Linked DNA regions of Homo sapiens: all the other regions are linked to region 2. Evidence: promoter capture Hi-C in 16 types of primary human blood cells and fetal thymus (Javierre and others, 2016). All regions are on one chromosome and are shown on one strand. Each heading gives the region's core, a stretch centred on a gene start or on the middle of the fragment in contact. The rest is flanking DNA. Distances are from core to core; before and after follow the strand shown. Region 1 holds the start of OR52B6 (olfactory receptor family 52 subfamily B member 6). Region 2 holds the start of OR52E4 (olfactory receptor family 52 subfamily E member 4). Region 3 overlaps TRIM6 (tripartite motif containing 6).

Evidence for each region. The method cuts DNA at HindIII sites, captures the fragments that hold promoters and counts their contacts. A CHiCAGO score of 5 or more calls a contact.
Region 1: the fragment with the promoter of OR52B6 here is called in contact with the fragment with the promoter of OR52E4 in region 2 in 5 of 17 cell types (neutrophils, monocytes, erythroblasts and 2 more); the score reaches 7.9 in neutrophils.
Region 3: a fragment that was not itself captured here is called in contact with the fragment with the promoter of OR52E4 in region 2 in 1 of 17 cell types (megakaryocytes); the score reaches 7.3 in megakaryocytes.

The regions. Positions count from the first base shown.
Region 1 is chr11:5,577,505-5,582,126 of GRCh38, reverse strand. OR52B6 (olfactory receptor family 52 subfamily B member 6) reads right to left here and starts at 1,250. Exons shown (of 1, transcript NM_001005162.2): 1 at 243-1,250. The coding sequence starts at 1,250. The coding sequence ends at 243. RefSeq lists an enhancer at 714-1,008 and a silencer at 714-1,008. The HindIII fragment of the contact is 3,709 bases long and covers 1-2,615 here.
Region 2 is chr11:5,878,007-5,882,966 of GRCh38, reverse strand. OR52E4 (olfactory receptor family 52 subfamily E member 4) reads right to left here and starts at 2,338. Exons shown (of 2, transcript NM_001005165.2): 1 at 2,253-2,338. LOC112268071 (a long non-coding RNA gene) reads left to right here. Exons shown (of 3, transcript XR_002957231.2): 3 at 1,538-1,872. The HindIII fragment of the contact is 16,575 bases long and covers 1-4,960 here.
Region 3 is chr11:5,596,921-5,601,577 of GRCh38, reverse strand. The region is part of intron 1 of TRIM6 (tripartite motif containing 6); the gene reads right to left. All of the region lies in intron 1 of TRIM6-TRIM34 (TRIM6-TRIM34 readthrough), which reads right to left. It also overlaps a transcript of TRIM5 not described here. Among named protein-coding and RNA genes, the nearest start is that of TRIM6-TRIM34, 2.6 kb to the right of the region's middle. RefSeq lists enhancers at 925-1,219, 4,253-4,657. The HindIII fragment of the contact is 2,493 bases long and covers 322-2,814 here.

The sequences.
Region 1 (4,622 bases), core at 1-2,500, 300 kb after region 2:
TTTCTTGAGGTGATGGGAAATCAGATTGCATTTCAATAGGAAGAGTAAGAGAATGAGACAGATTTTACTAAAGATTTCCAATAAAAGAAATCAGAGGTGGGTTTGAATAGGTGACATATTTAAAAAAATTGGGAGATCGATGAGAATAACACAGGGATAATTGGAAGATGTAGAGGTGAGAATGGGCTAAATACGGGACAATTGATAGGTATAGAAAAGGGTTGAGACTAAGTTGAAAGCATTTATTTAGATCCTTTGGCAAGATTTGAAAACATCTGCTTAGCCCCTTCCAGTATTGGCTTAGTCCTCACTCCATAAATAACGGGATTGAGCATAGGAGGAATGACAACGTAGAGGCTGGCCAGGAGAATATGGACATAGCATGGGACGCTTCTCCCACCAAACCTGTAGGCAAAGACAGAAAAAAGCGCAGGGACATAGAAGAGTAGGATGACACAGATATGGGATCCACAGGTACTCAGGGCCTTGGAGCGGGCATCTTGAGAAAGGAGGCGGAAGACTGCTTGGAGGATGTGGATGTAGGAAACAGTAATAAGCATGATGTCTAGGCCTGTGGAGAGAAGAGCAGCTGCCAACCCATACCAGACATTGATGGAGATATCAGAACAGGACAGATGGGCAATGCCCATGTGCTCACAAAATGTGTGTGCAATGATATTGATCTGGCAATAGTGCAGGTGCTCAAGGAGAAAGATGGATGGAAACATAATGATGAAGCTGTGGCTCAGGGCGGCAGTGACGATCTTCCCAATGACCTTGCTTGTGAGGATTGTGACATATCGCAGGGGGGAGCAGATGGCCACATAGCGGTCAAAGGCCATGGCCAGCAGGACAGCAGAGTGAATGAAGAGGAAGTGAATGAAGAACATCTGAGTGAGGCAGCCATCAAAGGAAATGAGGCTATAACCTAGCCACAAATTGGCCAGGGCCTTAGGCATGGTGGTGGTAGAGAGCAAGACATCAGCACTGGCCAGCATAGATAAGAATATGTACATGGGCTCATGCAGGATTGCCTGGGAGAGGATGACACAAATTAGGATGCCATTGCCTTCCAGGGCAGTGATGTACATGATGCAGAAGGGGATGGACAGCCAGATATGTAGTTGCTCCAGCCCAGGGATGCCAGTGAGGAAGCAGCCTGCTATGCGAGTGTCAGAGTTGTTCATAGCACCTATGCTGTTAGCAGAAAAAAGGGCCATGATTTTATGCAGCGCCCTCACCTGTGCCATAGGGAAAAAAGAGCTTCAGATTTTTGAATACATTAGTAGAGTGTCCATATGCACAAGGCCTGCATATACTTACAGGCCCGATGACAGTTATGGCTTCTGCACACAGGCATATCTCTACAGATAATCACACACAGGCTCTGCACACAGCCATATTCTCCGTAAATAATTACACATAGGCTCTGCACAGTTACAGGACCTGCCCACAGACAGGCTCAGTGTTCTTACTCAGAAGCTCTCCACACAGCTTTAAGAATTTCAGGAAACTAGGCCGGGCGCAGTGGCTCACGCCTGTAATCGCAGCACTTTGGGAGGCTGAGGCTGGTGGATCACGAGGTCAGGAGTTCAAGACCAGCCTGGTCAAGATGGTGAAACCCTGTCTCTACTGAAAATACAAAAAATCAGCTGGGTGTGGTAGCAGGCGCCTGTAATCCCAGCTACTCGGGAGGCCGAGGCAGGAGAATCACTTGAACTTGGAGGGCGGAGGTTGCAGTGAGCCGAGATCGCGCCACTGCACTCCAGCCTGGGCGACAGAGTGAGACTCCGTCTCAAAAAAAAAAAAATTTTTTTTCAGGAAACTAAAGGGCTCAAAAACATTGCCAGACTCAGCACAGTGCCATAGGTCCAGAAAAGAACAGGGATAGGTAGAACATCAAAACCAATCTGTACAATCTCTTTGGGCATGTGAACTGTAATGAGCTCTGCAAAAGCCCCAGGCCCTACAGAGAGGACTGCAGTCCTACAACAAGAGGACTAAACAACAATTTGATTAGCAGATTATGTGAAAGAGTAGGGTTGGGGGTGGTGGGCACTGCCAACCCTACACCCATTTTTCCCTAGGCACAGATGCGCTAAGTATGAAGGCAATTAAGGTAGCTACGGCATTTAGAAAGAACACCGCAGAGGGTGTGAAAAAACCTGGGTCAGAGGTCTGCCCTGTTAACTATTGGCTGCTTGATCTTGGACAAGTCACTGTCTTCTCTGAGTAACAATTTTCTTTCTTTCTTTCTTTTTTTTTTTTTTTTGAGACGGAGTCTCGCTCTGTCGCCCAGGCTGGAGTGCAGTGGCGCGATCTCGGCTCACTGCAAGCTCCGCCTCCCAGGCTCACGCCATTCTCCTGCCTCAGCCTCCCAAGGAGCTGGGACTACAGGCGCCCTCCACCACGCCCGGCTAATTTTTTTGTATTTTTGGTAGAGACGGGGTTTCACCGTGTTAGCCAGGATGGTCTCGATCTCCTGACCTCGTGATCCACCCACCTGGGCCTCCCAAAGTGCTGGGATTACAGGTGTGAGCAATTTTCTAATTTTTAAAATGAGCATAATTGTTGTTTTGTTGGTATATTAAGCTAAATTTTCTCTGTGGAAAGCTTATTAAATTGCGTGTGACTTCCTGAGTCACCTCTGTGGCTGTGAAATGTGGCACTGTCATCCAGAGCAGAAAGGAAGGTGTAGAACAATGCTTCTGAAGCTTGGTCTCCACAGCACCATCAGGGAACTTGTAAATTCTTCGGCCCTACCACAAACCTACGGATGAGAAAACCTAGAGTTGGGATAACATTCTGTGTTTTAGCAAGCTCTCTAGGTGATTCTGATTCATGCTGAAGTTTGTGAGCCACTGATGTAAGAACTTTTTGAACTTTCTTCCCTATCTACTCTAGATGTCTATCAGTTCCACCAGGATCATTACCTTTTAGTATCCATTGGTTTCCCCTGCATCTGTAAATTCTCAGACTTCAACTAAATCTAACTAGTGTTATCCTCAGCTTACATAGTCAGGATGTGAAAAAATGACACAATCACATAAGTAGTCTTTAGTACATATTAGGACACATGATTCCTCCTTAGTCCTATTGAACTATTCTCACAATGAATATACGACTTTTTTTTTTTTTTTGAGATGGAGTCTCACTCTGTCTCCCTGCCTAGAGTGCAATGACGTGATCTCCGCTCACTGCAACCTCTGCCTCCTGGGTTCAAGTGATTCTCCTGTCTCAGCCTCCCAAATAACTGGGATTACAGGCGCCCACCACCATGCCCAGCTAATTTTTTTTTTGTATTTTTAGTAGAGATGGGGTTTCATCATGTTGGCCAGGCTGGTCTTGAACTCCTGACCTCAAGTGATCCAGCTGCCTTGGCCTCCCAAAATGCTGGCATTGGCCTCCCAAAGTGCTGGTGGCTCCCATATGTGAGCCACCACACCTGGCATATACGACTTTTATCACTGCCCAAATTCTGTTTTTCTCTCTCCACTGAATGTTTCTCTTTTGTAACTCACATTTCAGGACTATCAGGAACATATCCCTCATATTATTCCTTTCCTGTACATTTATTTATCTCTGCATCCATCCTCCCCTCATTTCCTCCAGTCCCAGAGAAAGAGGTGCCAGTATCTTTCCTATTTTCCAATGTTTCTTTTGTCATAGCTGGAACATATTTTACTTTACCTAAATATAAGACAAGTTTCTTGAGTTATTTTTTGAGGTGCTGGGAAATGAACCTAGGGCCTCGTGTATGAATATTTAACATATTAGATTGTTTTTAAAACAACCTTATACACACACAAACATACATATGCATACTTACATGCATGCATTCATATGTGTACATATATACATATGCATGTATATACATGTGTTTATGTGTATGAATGTATGTAGCTGTATCGTCAAGAATAATTTCCCCATCTATTCTCTGAATTACCTTTCTTTCCTACCAATTCAGGGACTTTGTTTCATCAATTATTCTCTGTCTTTATCTTCAGCTTCTCCTGATTTCCTGGATCTTTATTAAAGAATATTCAAATATTTTTAACTTGAAGACAAGCAAAAAATTAACAACAGCTATAATAAAAACATTTTATTCTACTAAACTCTCTTTTAAATTACTGTTTTGTCTCTCTTCTTTCCTTTAAAAATCATTCTTCCATGAAAGACCACTTTTGACTTTGATTTCTCTACCTTCCACCAGTTCTTCTCTTGTACCCTGGTCTGATCCTGCTCTCATTAAAGTCATCTCTCTCCCTGCAGAATGGTTTACTGTTTGTGTTTCCTAATGGTCTGTAGCAATCCTCTTCTCACTCTTTCCTCTCTCTGACCAATCTTGTCTACTACCTTGGCTCCATTTAGCCTTCATGTGCTAATATCTCCCAAATCTACATTGCCATTTATGTTGCTTTCCAGGCTCTAGATCCACTTATCCAAAGCCCTCCCAACTGGTCTCCTAGTCTGCAGTTCTTCTAGTCTCTAAACCATTCCTCATAATTAAACAATGTTCCCAAAAGATAATTTTGCATATGCACTATCTTGATTAAGGATAATAACTGCCCGTTGCCTGAAAGATTCATGCAACTAACACACACACACACACACACACACTC
Region 2 (4,960 bases), core at 1,089-3,588:
GTACAACTCTGTAGCAACTAATGTAACCTGGATTGTATAATATTTATGCATGTACTGGCCTTATTTCTACAAAGAGAATAGCTGCAACTAAGAGTTGAGAACCAGGGGTAATCATTGTAATACTCTCAAAACTGCCACATGAATGTTGGTTCCCAGTTGTTCAGCATTTAATTGAATCAGAGTTGGGGTTTGTAATAAGTGTGCTTTTGTTTGTGTGTGAGTGTGTGTGACAGAGACAGAGAGTGAGAGAGAGAGAGAGAGAGAGAGACGGAGAAGGTTGGAGAGATAGGAGTAGAGAGAGAAATCATGTTTTATTATGTACGTGGCTGCATACATCAGTTGTCCTGTAACTTTGCCAGGTAGCTATTTTACAGCAGAAGTACACAAGCAAAGGAGTTAATAATTCCCCATTCTGTATGAGAAGAACAAGAGCATTTCTTGGTCCCCGAGAAGCTGAGAGAAAATTGAAAAAAGAACATAATGTTTGCCAGTATTGAGGAAAAGATGCCAGGCTGAAAAATCAGAGGGCAGTGGTTTTTGTGATTTCACCTGGGAGAGTCTGAGGAAATAGCTAGGATGATGTGTTGTGAGATTTACAGTCCAGAGTCAGCCCAATCTTAAGGGTGGCTGTGTCTCAACATGATACTTTGCCAGCTGAGAAAAACATTCCCAGGGAGATGGCAAAGAGGACGCTTCTCTGACAGTAAAATTCAAAGCTGCCAGCACATCCACCCTCTCACAGTTTTACCTGAATTCTTGCCTTCTTTCTGTTATAACTATATGCCACAGTAGCAGACAGTGTATGGCCAATAACCTCAAGATCATTTTTTGAGGGCAAATTATTAAGTTTGTTCTTCTCTAGATATGCACATTGACAAAGATCCCTACTGGAGTCCATCTGAAAAGACAAATTCATAACAATTAGCAATTTTTCTCTTATTGTGCTCACCAAAGTTCACATTTTGAACTTGTGATTTTTTTTACTTTGTTGGATTTTTATTTTTTTGCTGACTGTAGTAGAATATTACAGAAGTCTTCTGTGGACCTTAAAACTTTTCAGACATGGCTGGAAAACCTGCTAAACCATTTACTTGCTTGAGACCCTTGGACAGATTCTTTAACCAGATAGATCAGTTTTTTTTTCTCCTGTAAAAATGAGATGATAAATTATAACTAATGTGGTTTATTTTAATGATAAATAAGACCAATGTTTGTATAGGTGCTAGTGCATAGTGTATCCTCAACAAATTATACTTACTTATTTTATTAATGCTCCCAAATATTTTGTTTATTTAAATGCAAGATAGCTAAAATAATTCACCTGTTAGCAGAAAGAAGTTATTTCATTGTAAAAAGTCCAAATTATGTCACAGTTTGGCCTAAGATTAGATAAAGGAGGAATGGCTCAGAAGAGGCCAAAGTGAAGAAATGGCACAGAGTCAGACATTAATATTTATGTCTAGATTTTTATGGATACAAATATGACCCAATACTGCTCATTTAGAAAAGAAACAATTTTCTCCTCTTATTCTTACAGCTTTCCCAATCTTGGTGAGACCAAAGCAGTTGATGAATGGATAAAGTGGATAAATACCTTCATTCAGGCTCTTCCATAACTGTGCCATTGGCGGTTCAGTCCGGCTGATCTAGCAGGGGTATTGTGCTTACAATAAAAATGGCTTGGGGATGGTTCCATAAAGTAGTAGGGATATAGGGAACCAAGTTACAACTGGCAACATTAAATTCACTCAGACAATGAGGGAAACAGAGAATAAAACTTTACAGACCAAATATGTTAATGCCTATGTAATTGTATTTGAATATTGACATGTGATACCCACCCACCACCTTAAATAAACACATACAAAAGAAGTCTGCAATAACATCCTTTTGTCTTATTGACAACAAGTATGGCCATGCTACTATATGACTGTATTTGTGGTGTTTCGGCTGTGAACAGTGTACTCTGTGAGAATGTGTGTGTATGAGTGTATGTGTGTGTAAGAGAGAGGGGCAGAGAGAAAGGGGGGAGAGAGAGAGATACACAGACAGAAATTCTGTGCATTACTAATTGGTACACCACTGCCCTCACCAATCCCATGTGCTCTGTTGTGTTCCTCTGTGAAGAAAATGGTGCAATGGTGCTTAGGATAATTCCTCAGAAAAGTGGAAGAATCTGGCCTCTCTATCCTCATTTGCCCTCTTCTTCTCTCCTGTGTATCTTTTCACTTCTCCTGCACAAGCATTCTTACCTCTGTAATATTTCTTCTCCCAGCCCTCACTTGGAGCAGAATTGGAGCATGAGTCCAGGTTCTTAAAGACCGTGATTAGGTTCCCCTTGAAGCCTCTGAGCAACAAGCCTGCTTGGTAAAGTGGAGGCAACTTTATAGTGAGTGAGAGCATCCCTATGACCAGGCATGTCCCAGAATCCCCGAGCCTAGTCTTCGGAATCCTCTGGGCAGAAACATGGACTCGAGGGTCATTAAGTCATAGTAAGTCTTTATTCCTCTTCACTGCATCTGCAGAGAAACACCATGCTAGATATAACTCCTTAGCTCAGGGGAGCAGATGTGTTATGAAAGGATGGGAAGGGAGCTATCCTGAAGAGAGAGGAATCTGTTTGGGGAATGATGTTAATTCCGCTTCCCTCAGGAGCCATGAAAGCATTGATTTTGGACCATTAACTCTTCACAGTGTGACCATGAAACTGTTCTCAGCAACTTTTCTGTTTTAATATGTTTGTGTAAATCCTGATGTAGTTTCACAGCTGTTACAATTGAGGCTTCAAAAGATGAAGGAGAAGACATCTCAAATAGACAAATTAGACTCTGTGGTACAACTCTGTTTATTGGCAGTGTGCATGCCTGCAGATAATAGCAGCAACTTTCTTCCAACCCACCAAGATTCTCCTTCTCAGTCTATAACTAATGGTGAACAGATAGTCTTTGAAGAGAGGCTTTCATGTGTTTCAGCTCTTTTGGCAGAAAGTGAAGAAAATTCTACGTTTTCCTTATAAAACATATTATATTGTCCCTTCCAGCCAGAGCAGAGGTAGTGTTTCCTGAGAGGCTCCCTTCCTGAATGATGACATAGTAGACCCGATAGTACTACCAGGACATGCTGCAGAGCCTGGTTTTCCTGACTATAGTTAGAAATAGACTGAGGGAAAAATAAGTACATTAGACAATTAGTTGGTATTTTTTGCCTCCTAAGTTCAGACTATTTTGAGTTGTTAGCACAGAAACAGCAATGTCGTCTGTGGTCCAAGAGAGATTCTGGTTTGATCTGCCACGTTCTTGTGTTCATTACTTCTCTTTTGATTAATGAGAAAGTAACTCCTGAGGTTCCTGTTTCTCCCTCATTGTGTCCATCTTCCTTACTGTATCCACATTTATCTTCCCAAATCAAGTCTGACTCTATCCAATTTCTGCTTAAAATTCCTTCCCATGACCCCTACATTCTCCATTGTATACTGTAGACTTTATGTAATAAGGGGCAAACACCATTGTTGCCAAAGTCCTTCACTCAATACCCAATCAACTTTTTATACTTTCATTATACTACATGACTCCCGAACACACATCTTGTCTTTGATAATCAAAAGTCCTCCATATGAAATAACTTCATCTCATTTCTACTTTGCTTCAGCACTTTCTCAATTGTCCTATACTTCTTAATGACCTTTCATATGAATCAATCTGATATAATCTTTGTGTCTTTTGTATTTTCACATCAGTGTGTGCCACTATTATAACAGGCAAATTTTATTTTGTGTTGGTTTTGTGTTTTCTGTCTTCCATTATTTTATGGATTGATATTAGAGTGATGTTTAAGTCAACTTTATCCTTCAGTTCACTTAGTATAGTGCTTTGATTGTAGGAGGTGTTCTGGCATTGAATTACATTATTTTTAAAACATAAAAATTCTAGTTCTGTTAGGGTCATATCATATAATCATATATCTCCTAATTGGTCACTGTACCTACCCCTCTCCTATTCCCAAGACTATTTCACTGTGACTTCTAGAATCAATTTTTTATGAGCAGTGATATTATTTTTGGCCTTAAACCACTTCTGATGTTCTGTTTCTCTTCCTTTTGAAACAGAAACCCAGCTGTTCCCTGAGGACATTACTTCTGAAAAGTGTTGAAGGATTGGATATATTTTCCCACTATTTTCACTGTTTCCTCATGCCAAATAGCCTAAAGGCCTAGAGACTTTTTGTCTTGGACTTTTGACAGTTTGACATTATAATGCCTCGGGGAGGACCTTCTTGAGTTGAATTTACATAGGGGATTTTGAGCTTTCGGATCTGGATATCTACATCTCTCTTCATATTTGGAAAGTTTTCAGCTGTTATTTTATTAAATAGGTTTCCTTTGTCCTTTTCTTTCTCTTCTCCTTCTAGAATTCTCATAATACAAATATTTGTTTACTTAATGGCATCCCATTAAGGAACACCATTATTTCTTTACTTTTTTAAATCCTTCTTTTGTTTTTCTTTGACTTATTTCAAACAACCTGTCAACAGATTCTTCTGCTTGACCAAGTCTGCTATTGAATCTCTCTATTGTAACTTGAAAACTTATTCATTGAATTCTTCAGCTACAGGATTTCTATTTGATTTTTATGATTTTTATCTTCTGTTGAATTTCTCATTTGTTTCATGAATTGTTTTCCTGATTTTATTGAATTGTCTATGCTGTATATTCTTGTATTTTATTGAGTCTTCTCAGCATCATTATTTTGATTTTTTTTCTTTGGCAATTTGTTGATTTTCTTTTTACTGGAGTCTGTTACTACAGTGTTATGTTCCTTTGGTGGTATCATATGTCTTTGCCTTTTCATGTTTCTTGTGTCTCTATATTGATGCCTGTGTATCTGCTTATCTCCAAACTTTCCAGAGTGGTTTTTATACAGGACAACTATCACCTGCAGTTGGGTTTTAGTGTGCCAGTTGG
Region 3 (4,657 bases), core at 319-2,818, 280 kb after region 2:
CCATGTTGGCCAGGCTGATCTCGAACTCCTGACCTCAAGTGATCTGCCTGCCTTGGCCTCCCAAAGTGCTGGGATTACAAGCGTGAGCCACTGCGCCCAGCCTGGGGAGGTAATATTTTTACAACTCATGATTCTGTAACCAGTTGTGATTTAGAAATCACATTCTCTTGCTTTCTTTATCCCTCATGGACAACTCTGCATAAATAAGAGTATTCTCCATTCTTTAATAAGAAGAGACATTAAGTGACTTTACACAATCATGCACCTTGTAAGTTGTAGAATTGGCATAACCTAACCTTTCCAGGGTGCTAGTTCAAAGCTTCGTCCTCAAACTCATAACTTTGACCAAAGACAGTCAGTGGTAAAGGCTGTGAAAGTCAGGCATGGACCAAGTGCTTTCGAAGTATGGAAATGAGAGAGATCCTATTTGATGATGGGATTTTGCCAGGGCCTGTCTTAAACTTCAGCAGGATCCTAAGGGGGTCCATATGTAAGGAGAGGTGGCCGGTAAGGCAGTTGAGACCTTATATCTTCATTGAGAAATATGACCTTTATTGTCTATTTTTCTTGGAAGAGTTGTTGATAAATTACGTTACCATTGTTTAAAATCACACTGAGAATACTCTTTAGAAAATTTTTAAAACTGTTTCCAGCACTGAGTTATTTTCACTGGGAGCCATTTGTTCTGCTTGTCTACCTGGAGTTGTGTTTGGGCCACCAAAGAAGAGCCAGCTAACACTGCCTATGTGAAGCTCTGGCCCTGGTTCCAGGCGTGACCTCGCTGTTCTGAACAGGCCACAGTGCGTAGGGAGCAGGCAGAATTCTCTAACTTGTCTTTGGCTGGTTTCCCAGCAAAAGTAAATGTACACTGATGTAAAAAACAGTCCGTGTGGGCCTCAACACAAGGCCCTGTAAATTGTACCAATTTACCCCCATCTTGAGGACCTGGTGGATTTAAAAAGTATATCAAACTGCCTCCCAATAACAACACTCCCCTTAGAAGAAAGGGCCTGAGAAAGTGTCTCAGATAAGGGTAAGAAAAAGTCATGGGATGTAAGCATAAGCCTCCTAGCGGCCCTGCTGGGGGATCTAGCGAGCCGAAAACAGGTTCTTGGCGCTGCCATCTAGTGTTCTGTGGTGCTTCTGCAAGTACTAGCCTGGCTCTTCAGCTTTGCCATGCTTAGCAGCAGCGATGCTCACAGCAAATATCTACAGAAAGCCCATTAGGTATTCAGCAAGAATTTAATTATTTTGTACATAATAACTCAATAATTCCACATAACAACATTATGAATGTCCCTTAAATCTCATCTCATAGTTGTATAAACTGGTATTTAGTAGATCTTTCAAGTGGCGGGGCCGGTGTTGAATGCAGATACGCAGGCTGCAGAGCTGGAGCTCTTATTACTCCCTTATATTCCTCATCTCCATAAAGGGTGCAAAATATAATTAACAAATTAATGAACTCTGTGCATCTAACTGGTAGTACTAATTGGTGTTACAGACGTATTTACCTATCATCTGAGAGTCTGTTTAACCAAATTAATCACACCTGTGGGAACTGCACTATTATTTCCTTTGTTAATATCTCCTACCATACCCACATCATCTCACTTAGCACACTGCACTATAAGGCTCTATTGCCTTTGATAATAGAGGCAATAGAGGCTCTAGAGGCAATAGAGGCTCTATTTATCTTCCAGGTGCCCCAGACCTTAGCACTGCAGCTAACACAGGAAATGATCAATTAACTTTATAATGGATTGAAAATTATAGCTTACTGCTGAGCTTATAGTTGGCCTTGATGTTGGCACTAGAGTATAGAAATAAATGTGCTATCTTATCAAAGTGTTACTGTTAAAAAATAATTGTGTTGGCCGGGCGCGGTGGCCCAAGCCTGTAATCCCAGCACTTTGGGAGGCTGAGGCAGGCGGATCACAAGGTCAGGAGATCGAGACCATCCTGGCTAACACGGTGAAACCCTGTCTCTACTAAAAATACAAAAATTTAGCTGGGTGTAGTGGCGGATGCCTGTAGTCCCAGCTACTCGGGAGGCTGAGGCAGGAGAATGGCGTGAACCCGGAAGGTGGAGCTTGCAGTGAGTCGAGATCGTGCCACTGCACTCCAGCCTGGGCGACAGAGCGAGACTCCGTCTCAAAATAAATAAATAAATAAATAAATAAATAAATAAATATAATAATTGTATTGGTATTATATTTTAATTGAAAGTCCAATTCCAATTCATCCTCCCCAACAAACACATGCACACTTTCATTTCAGGCAAAACTGTATTTAGCGTACCCAATTCTCTTGAAGGAGAACTACTGCCTCATAAATGCAATGTAGTAATAGTCCCAAACTGAAAAGAATCCATGACATCACTAACTGGTAAATGAACAAACTGTGGTGTATCCATACAGTGGCATATTACCAAACAATTAAACTGTTAATATATACAACAAGATAAATCTCAAAAGCATGCAAAGTGAAAGAACCCAAACATCAAATTTAAGTTATTGTATGATGCTATTTATGTGAAATCCTAGAAAAGAGAAAGCTATGGTATTTGAAAGTACATCAGTGGAAGCCAGGGCCCAGGAGTGGGAGAAAAGTTTGAACTGCAAAGGGCATAAGGAAATTTGAAGGGTGAATACATAAAGGGAAATGCCCTTTATGTATCATGATCATGGTGGTGGTTACACAGCTGACTGCAACTGTGAAAATTCACAGAACTGTATGCTTACAATTTGTAACTTACTAGATAGAACTCAATAAACTGACAGAAACAAAAAAATACAAGAAAAATTAAAAGCTTGGTTTCTGATCTTCTAAGCATAATGGAACTGTGTTGTCAAACATGTAGCCAGATATGGCTCTTGAGCATTTGAAGTGTGGCTACTCAGAAATGGGTTGCTTTAGGTACAAAATACACATTGGATTTTGAAGATTTAGTTTAAAAAAGTTAAAGGATCTTATTAATTTTTTTATGTTGATCACATGTCCTAATTGTATTTTGCATGTATTGGGTTAAATGAAATGTATTAAAATTAATTTCACCCGCTTATTTTTAATGAGGCTACTTGAGTATGTAACATTACATATGTGGCTTCATTCTATTTCTAGTTCATTATATGTCTTTTTCCTATCTAATATGCGCTGTAGATATTCATCTAATACTCTCTTTAGACAGAGAAAAATTCTTGAGCAGAAAAAAGATTTGTAAGAGTTGAGGTCTCTTGTCAAAGCTGAGGCTTGGGAAAGAAATTGTGAAGGAGGGGAGCATACAGTTAGCATAGGTGACCCTTGCCCACACACCAGCAAGCCCTGACTGCCCACTGCAGCTAAGTGCAGCCCAAGGGAGATATGGGAGGCTGCCAGTTTCCAACTGAGGCCAAGTCTCCAGAGCAGTGTGGACGGGCTGAGAGAAGGCATTCTGACTGTGAGGAGTGCAGACGAGAAGAGCCTGCAGTCCCAGAGCCCAGTGCATCAAATTAGCAGAAGAAAGAGCCCAAATTCACAACCAGGTGGGACCAATTAAATCAGAACCAGACGCCTGAAAAAGGTCTGCTAACTAGCAACACTGCAAGCACTTGGAGTTCTTTATGCAGAATCTCAGTCTTTCCTGGAATGATTCAGAATCTGCACTTTAATATTAAAGTTCTCTAGGTGATTCTTACGCACATTAAGGCTTCAGAAGCACTGCCTTAGATAAAGGACCTTCTTTCCCAGGTGGATACAATTTAGGGTGCAAAACAGCTAGAAGAGGGAGGGGGACAGAGAATGGCCTGCTATTTAGATACGAAGCATCTTTTAGAATGGAAGCTTGCATCGATATCAAAATGGCTTTCAGAATAAAAATCAGTGACTCAGCAGGGGATACTGGGGCTGGTGTAGGCTGGGGGTTCAGAGTTAGGAATGACAGAGCGGGCCCGTCCACCAGCTGGGAGCCCTAGTGAAAGTGGAATAAAATAGGTGGCAGTTGCATTTATAAGTGAGTTGGGCATGAGTTCTTGCACTTTAGGAATAACATTTTTTTTTATCTTTGTGTAGGGTTATATTTAACCTATTATCTGCAATTGATTATCTAACAGGACTCAATAAATATTTGAATTGGAACATAATCAGTTTCAAAACAAAAAATTTAATTTCCACTTCAAAAGAATTTCTACCCCCTGCATTTCAGAAACCTATAATTTAAAAATTGTTTTGATTGTGCATTTTTTTAAAGCTAGGCATGGAGTTTGCCAGTAATAATGACCATAATTTGTGTCAGGCAGCCTCCTACGTGTTTAAATCTGTCTCACTCAATCCTCACCAAAACTCTAAGATATACATATTACTCCGTCCATCTTATAGATGGAAGAAACTAAAGCTCAAAGAAGTCAAGTTAACAGTCTTCGGGCACACAGCCAGTGTCTGTCAGAGTCAGGATTTGAACACATGCAGTCTGGCTGCGGCATCTATGCTCCTAACCACACATTTCTGTCTCTATTGACTGACTGATTAAAATGTCTCTAACCTCAGTGGGGTCATTTGCAGTGAGAAAGAAAAAGAAATAAAGATATAATGAGTTCCGAAAGGGAAAGGACCTTATCTCTTTCACTGCCCTGTCACCTCTGCCAGAAGTGACAATAAGAGCCAGTCAACAGAACGGTAG